2 separate regions of the Homo sapiens genome follow, and region 2 is linked to region 1. The links are contacts of gene promoters, found by promoter capture Hi-C in human tissues and cell types (Jung and others, 2019). All regions are on one chromosome and are shown on one strand. The core of a region is centred on a gene start or on the middle of the fragment in contact, and the rest is flanking DNA. Distances in the headings are between cores, read along the strand shown. Region 1 holds the start of RBM18 (RNA binding motif protein 18). Region 2 has its middle 6.7 kb from the start of OR5C1.

Region 1 (3,827 bases), core at 968-3,467:
GCCCAGACTCATGGGCGGTGGCACGATCTCGGCTCACTACAACTTCCACTTCCCGGGTTCAAGCAATTCTCATGCCTCAGCCTCCCGAGTAGCTGGGATTACAGGTGCATGCCACTAAGCCTGTCTAATTTTTGTATTTTCTTGTAGAGGCAGGGTTTCACTATGTTGGCCAGGCTGGTCTCCAACTCCTGACCCCAAGTGATCCATCCACGTCGGCCTCTCAAAGTGCTGGGATTACAGGTGTGAGCCACCATGCCCAGCACAAACTGTGGCATTTCCACTGGAAGTTATTTCTTTCTGAGCTTCAGTTTACCCATCTTTAATAAATTTTGCCCTGTTTATAACTTAAGGCTTCGAGGACCAAAAATGAGACGACAGATGTGAAATAAAGCTTTAGGGGCTGGGAGGACAGCAGGCTGTGTCAGAGTTCAGAAGTCCCTGCTAGAGAACACATATCCTATACCCAGAAGTACCTCAGAGGTCAGCACTACAGGAACCATGGAGGCAGTCACAACAACTGCCATTACCTCTTAATCATCTCAGCACACCCTGTAAAGTCTAGCACAGCAGTCCCTAGGTAATTGTTTATTGAATACCCTGCACATGAGGGTATTTTTCTTCCTTTCCCATTCACATCTTTAATCTGTTCAGCAATGTAAGTCAAGCAACTAGGAACTGTTAAACTCTGGGCTATGTACTGAAATAGACAAATGAAAAAGCCACAGCTCTTGTTCTTACCTCCTGGGAGAAAGGTGAAACAGACATAAATTTAATCCCAGGGGAGACACATTTTTGTCTTCCCTCTGCTTTCCTTTCCCCCTACTTTTTAAACAAATCATTCATTCAAAAAATAAATTCACTGCTTCTATTATCTAGGACTTATCCAGTTACTGGAGTCAGAGCAGTGAACAAGCAAGGTCCCTATCCTCTGGATGCTTGTATTTGGAAGGGGAGCAGGACAAAACAAAAGCAAAATAAATAAAGAAGATATAATTAGTGATACATGCCACAAACACAATTAAGCAGGGTGATGTGACAGGGACTCGACGACTATAGATTGAGTGGAGGGAAGGCCTCTCTAAAGGAGATGACATTTGGGACTTGAATGATAGGACATTCTGATTTTCTCATGTCTAAAATCAGGAATAATACCAATAGCTATTAATATTTATTACCACGAAAAGGTACCATGTTTTACTGGTAAGAGTGCAGGCTATGCGGGTCTGGGTTCAAATCCTGACTTTTGCACCTAGTAACTGCACCTTTAGCAAGTCACATGACCTTTCTTTAAGCATCCTCTCGATAGAAAAGCTTTCCTAAACAGAGTTCCTTGTTATTCTATATCATAGCCACTTTTCCATCTTTTTCCTCCTACTAAATGCTAATTCAATGTATTACTTAATGTTTCCTCTTCTATTTCCTTCACTAGAACGTAAGCTCCCACAGCACAGGACCTTGCCAATCTTGATCACGGTTCTATTTCTAGCACTTAAGTACACTGCCTGTCTCACGGTTGGTGCTTAATATTTACTAAATGAAGCAAGCCGCTTCTCCACTCGAAGACTTAGTTTCTTTTTCCTTCCTAGAATGGGTACAATTTGTCGTCTCACGAGGTCGTTGTGAGTCTTAAATAAGACAATTTTGGTGACAGCTCAGAATATGGCTTTTTGAGGAAAGGTAAAGGGTAATAAAAGATCAAGACGGCACGGGACTATCAAAATGCTTTGCGTTTGCAATAGCAACAATCCTTTAGACTACCAGAGTTCACAAAACGCGGTTACATTTGTCTTTCCAGCTGAGCTGCAATAACTCTGGAAGCCAGAAATAGTCATCTGGGGAAAGTGCAATCCAGAGAAGAAGAGACACCTGATCCTAACAGCAAGCGGTGGGGTCATGCCTGGAACCCTGGCTTCCCGATTTCTGGCTGCGAATTCCTACAGGCGAAGGGTCATTACTCGGATTGTTATTTCCGGGCCAGCGACAGGACAATCCGGGGCGGGGCCTGAGATGCAGTCCTGCGAGGGCGGCCTCCTGTAAGACCTCTTAGCGGGCCCATCGCTGAGGTGCAGGGACATGTCGCGGCCGAACTCACCTCGTGGCCTCGGCGTGGTGCTCTCAGCTCATGCCCGGAAACCAGGTCCCGACGCCGCGGTCAGACGGACCTCTAGACGCGTCCGCCTCAATGCCGCCAGCTGCCAGGCCGCCCGTGACGCGTTAAGCCTGCGCCGCCTCCTGGCTTCGTGACGTCACGACGTCCGCGCAGCTGCGGTCGCCGCCGTCGCACGAGTCTTTCCTTAGTAACCTGGGCGATAGCTGGTGAGTGTCCTTGACAGGGCCTCGAGGGGCGCGTGTGGTCTGGGTGCCAGAGACCCTTACTCAGGGACCTCTGGGGGACCTCAGGGGACCAGACTACCGTCCCCGACCCGTTCGAGTCCAGCTTGACCTTTAAGGCTGAGGGCGGGACCTGTGGCATTGGAGCGAGTCTCATGGGGTGGGGGCGGGGCTCCTTTTACCAGCTAGGAATTTAGGGGATGCTGGAGGAACTTACTAAAGAGTAGCCGCACACTTGACGGGAACGTTTGAGTTTCAGAACAATCCCATAGGAGTAGATATTATTATCTCCCATAATGAAGAAACGGAAGCTCACATAGGTAATTTTACCAGGGTCACGCGGTCAGAAAGTGAGGGCGCTTAAATTCAGACCTAGGGCTATCCGACTCCTAAGCCTGGACTTTTAACCACCACTCTGTGCCACCCAGTGGCAAAACAGTTGTCATTTCAGTAGCCCTTCTCCATTTACTTAACCCTGACAAATAGTATTGTCATTTACGTTTTACAGATGAGACGGAAGTCCTGAGAGTTTGACCGATTTAAGGTCACGTGCCTAGGAAGTGCTGGAACCAAGACTCGGAGTTTTCTCTAAGTTTAGTGCCTTTATTTTGTTTTAAACCACACTGTTGCATTTCCCCCCATTTTGGAAAGCTTTATAGTTGGAAAGAATGAAAACCTGATCTGACCCCTTCATTTTATGGTTGAAACAAAATCTACGTAGGAGAAATCACTTGGTACAAGTCACAAGTCAGTGGTAGAGCTGCCGCAAATGCTTTTTGAATACGTGTGATTATGAATCTAAATGGCAGATGGCAGGGAGTGATAAGGTAGGCATACTGGAATCCAGATCTCTTAACTCTTAGGCAAAAGCCCTTTCTCTACCTGTTAAAGTGTCTCATTCCTTCTTTGGCCGTGCCAGGTGCATAATGATTCTGTGTATAGTCAGATACTACAAGTACCTTTCTTTACCTGGTACTGCATTTAGAGAAGAACATCATCTACTATCTCTAAGCAAAAATCTGGCAAACCAGAGACAGTGGAGGCAACGCTGGGAAGCCCAGAACCTACCATAATAGTAAGGGTAGATTCCCATCCGATTCTGGTTTACCCTGGATAAGGAATTTATCTTTCTGGACTTTCACTGATGTATTCATCACATTCACAGTGTCTTCTGTGTTCTGGCAATGTACCAGGTACTGGGGATACAGCAGTGAACAAGAAAATCATAGATTAGTCCTTGTAGTACTTAGAGTCATATGGAGGGAATTAGACAATCAAATAATTACACAAATGTTAGCTTGTATTGTTAAGAATTAAGTGCTATGATGAAGTAAAGGGTGCTATGAAAGCAGACTACAGGACACTTGACCTAGTTGGGCTGTAGGAGATGGCCAAGGAAGCCGTCCTCTGAGGAAGTGATGGTTAAGCTGAAATCTGAAATAAAAACGGAGACAAACAGTTAAAGAGGTGAGGGAAGATCATCAAGGAGATTCAAT
Region 2 (3,960 bases), core at 1,171-3,670, 520 kb after region 1:
CAGAGATACTGCCTCCACCTTCACAGAGCTTACAGCTGAGAGGAGGATATGCCTCACAATTTTACCATGATGTCGAACTCTGAGGAACCTTCAGCCTATTCTTTCTGCTGAATTTTTTGGTGAAAAAAAAATTAAGTTGGCTCCTCACACTACAACTAGCACAAAATAAATTCCAGGTAGACTAAATATTTAACCATCTAAAAAAGTGAAACTATGAAAGTACTAGAAGAAAAGCATGGGAGGATATTTTTATAATCTTAGAATGGAAAGAGGGCTTCTACGTATAACATAAAACCTAAAACCAATAAAATAAGAATTTACAAATTCAATTAAATAAATTAAAATTTACTTTTCATAAAGAAAAAGAACCATAAAGTCAAAAGACTCATGACAAAATAGAAATATATATATAATTATATAATTTGTATCACAAAGAGCTAATGTCCACAAAATGTAAAGAGGTACTCTAAATTAATAGCAACAGTCTGGGCGTGGTAGTTCACATCTATAATCCCAGCACTTTGGGAGGCCAAGGCAGGTAGATTACCTGAGGTCAGGAGTTTGAGACTAGCCTAGCCAAAATGGCGAAACTCTATCTCTACGAAAAATGTAAAAGTTAGCTGTGCGTGGTGGGATGTGTCTGTAGTCCCCGCTACTCAGGAGGCTGAGGCATGAAAATCGCTTGAACCCAGGAAGTGGAGGCTGCAGTGAGCCAAGATCACACCACTGCACTCCAGCCTGGGTGACAGAGAGAGACTCCATCTCAAAAATAATAATAATAATAAATTAATTAATAGCAACAAAGACCAAAAATTCAACAGATAATTGGCAAAGAATGTGAACAGAGAATTCACAAAAGAAACACAAGTGATTCTTAAGTTTATTAAATAATGTTCATTCTCATTCATAATAAGATAAATGTAAATTAAGGCTACAGTGAGGTACTTTTATATATCATTAGGCAAAGATCAAAAAGTCTGAAAACAGTATTATGGAGAATGTTGGAAAGCATGTACTCTTATGTATTGCTAGTGGAAATATAAATTAGTATATCATTATTTAAGAGCAATTTGATAGTATCTACAAAATGAAGTACATATACTCTTTGACTTAGCATTTCCATTTATATGCTAACATACAAGTTTTAAAATAAATATATACATATATGTCTGTGCATTTATAAAGTAATTCTGGAAGGATACACAAGAAACTGCTAGCAGCTGTCCCCTCTAGAGAGCAGGAATAGAGGACTCAGAAGCAAGGTGGGAGGAAGAGTTGTTTTTTATTAAATACCCTTTGGTGCCTCTTGAATTTTTTACAGTGCATTATATTGCTCCTAAAAATAAATAACAAAAAGAGAGCAAAGTAGAAAACACTAACTTCTAACGATGTACTCATATTTATTATTAACATTAAATTTAATTTTTAAAGATTTTTTTCATTGGGAAATGTTATGAAAAACTCAGGATTGAAATAGGGGAGTTTGAATTGCAGAGAAGACATGCACCTAACCAAAGGATAACAAAGATGCTTCACCTCTCCTACAAACCCCAGCCCTCAGGCAGTGACTTCCACAAGCACTGAGATAAGAAGGATTCTAAGGCTAGTCCGAGTTCAGTAAGAATGAGTAGCACGACTGACTAGCCATGTCTGCCTTGCTCACAGGATGGGGTCATAGCATCATCTTTAATACAAACTCCATCTCTCTCCTAATGGCTCCAACCAATGAGACTGTGTTATAACCACTCCATTTGATGGCAGCCTATGTTCGACTGCAGAATCCAACTTATTTTAAGAGTGAATACCTCTTGGGGTGGTGAATGCATGAAACTAAAGTGATACTGTGGCAGAAAACATCACAAGTCCCTTAATATTAAGCCAAAGTAGATTGCAATGGCTGGGTATAGATTCACAGAGAAGACACAAATTAAATCGGGCTTAAATGTTAGCTAGGGGCTGGGTGCAGTAGCTCATGCCTGTAATCCCAGCACTTTGGGAGGCTGAGGCAGGTGGATCACCTGAGGTCAGGAGTTCAAGACCAGCCTGGCCAACATGGTGAAATCCCGTTTCTACAAAAAATACAAAAATTAGCTAGGTCTGGTGGTTCGTGACTGTAATCTCAGTAACTCAGGAGGCTGAGGCAGGAGAACTGCTTGAACCTGGGAGGTGGCAGTTGCAGTGAGCAGAGTTCATGCCATTGTACTCCAGCCTAGGTGACAGAGCGAGACTCCATCTCAAAAAAAAAAAAAAAAAAAAAAAGTGTTAGCTAGGAACTTGAATAGGGGAACAATATGGTTTGGCTGTGTCTCCGCCCAAATCTCATCTTGAATTGTAGTTCCCATAATCCCCACGTGTCATAGGAGGGACCTGGTGGGAGGTAATGCAATCATGGGGGCGGTTACCCTCATGCTACTGTTCTCGTGATAGTGAGTTTTCATGAGATCTGATTTTTTTTTTTTTTTTTTTTTTTTGAGATGGAGTCTTGCTCTGTCGCCCAGGCTGGAGTGCAGTGGCGTGATCTCGGCTCACTGCAAGCTCCGCCTCCTGGGTTCACACCATTCTCCTGCCTCAGCCTCCCAAGTAGCTGGGACTACAGGCGCCTGCCACCACGCCTGGCTAATTTTTTTTTTTTTTTTTTTGTATTTTTAGTGGAGAAGGGGTTTCACCATGTTAGTCAAGATGGTCTCAATCTCCTGACCTCGTGATCTGCCTGCCTCAGCCTCCCAAAGTGCTGGGATCATAGGTGTGAGCCACTGCTCCAGGCCGAGATCTGATTGTTTTATAAGGGGCTTTTTCCCCTTTTGCTTGGCACTTCTCCGTCCTGCAATCATGTGAAGAAAGACATGTTTTCTTCCCCTTCTGCCATGACTGTAAGTTTCCTGAAGCCTCCCCAGCCATGTGGAACTGTAAGTCAATTAAACCTCTCTCCTTTATAAATTACTTAGTCTTGGCCAGTTCTTTATAGCAGCATGAGAACAAACTAATACAGGGAAGAAGAGGAAAAAAGGGATTCTAGACAGGGGAAATAATTTCAAAAGATAGTAATAAGTAGGCCTAGCATCAAAGACAGGGGAGAAGAGTGAATAATAAGGAGATAGGACTAGGGCAAAGGCTTGCATAGAAGAAACAATATTAGAAAACTGTTTTTGTGGAGACCCTTGGCAAAGTGTTTGGAGTTATCTAATGCACAGTCAGAGTAAAATGCTTAGACAAGGCTTGAGAAGCACAGTGGAGAGGGGAAGATGTGGTCAGCATGGAGACCAGCTGGGAAGCTCACTCATGATCACATGAGTGGGGCTTGGACCAGGGACATGGCAGTCCTTGGAGTGAAGTGGACCAGCACAAGGGTACTGCAGAGGCACAACAGGTGGGCGGCCCACTGTTGGGCCAAAAGGAGAGGGTGGGAACAAAGGGAGAGGGTGGGAACAATCACCCTCAAAAGTAAAAGATGCTTCTCTGGGCTTGGATTTCTTCATCTATGAGTAGATATAAAAGTATCTGCTTCATAAGGATGTGATAGGTATCAAATGAGATTGTTCATGCAATCATCAATCAATCAATGGCCTACCAATCACTCCATTGATTGGCATCATATGCCATTCAGTAAGCTGAGGAGAAAGAGAGAAATGTGTTCCTCTCCTTCAGATCATATATATGTTAGTTTGTAATTGTATGTGTGTGGTTATTTGATTGAGAGCTCTCTCTTCCCACCAGCCTGAAAGTTCTGTGAGAGCAGTAACAGATGTGTTATAGTGACATCTGTATCCCTTGTGCTCATAGAGTGCCTGTCCCATAACAGGTAGTTAAAAAATGCTTGTTGAGTATATAATTAAAAATGGATTGATATTTAAGTGATTGATAGATTGATAAATACATACATACATACATGCATACATAAATATATACATAGACAGACTTCATAAGCTTTAATCCCAGGGACTGAAAGATAAATACGGAGTC

The links. Contacts are between HindIII fragments. The study calls those that stand out against the background at their distance.
Region 2: a fragment that was not itself captured here is called in contact with the fragment with the promoter of RBM18 in region 1 in 1 of the 25 tissues and cell types used here (thymus).

Annotation. Positions count from the first base shown.
Region 1 is chr9:122,262,623-122,266,449 of GRCh38, forward strand. It overlaps RBM18 (RNA binding motif protein 18), which reads right to left and starts at 2,218. Exons shown (of 6, transcript NM_033117.4): 1 at 2,093-2,218. MRRF (mitochondrial ribosome recycling factor) reads left to right here and starts at 2,260. Exons shown (of 7, transcript NM_138777.5): 1 at 2,260-2,316. RefSeq lists enhancers at 1,400-2,371, 1,750-2,949, 2,372-3,342, 2,518-2,677. The HindIII fragment of the contact is 4,734 bases long and covers 852-3,827 here.
Region 2 is chr9:122,780,302-122,784,261 of GRCh38, forward strand. No RefSeq gene overlaps it. Among named protein-coding and RNA genes, the nearest start is that of OR5C1, 6.7 kb to the right of the region's middle. The HindIII fragment of the contact is 9,163 bases long and covers 1-3,960 here.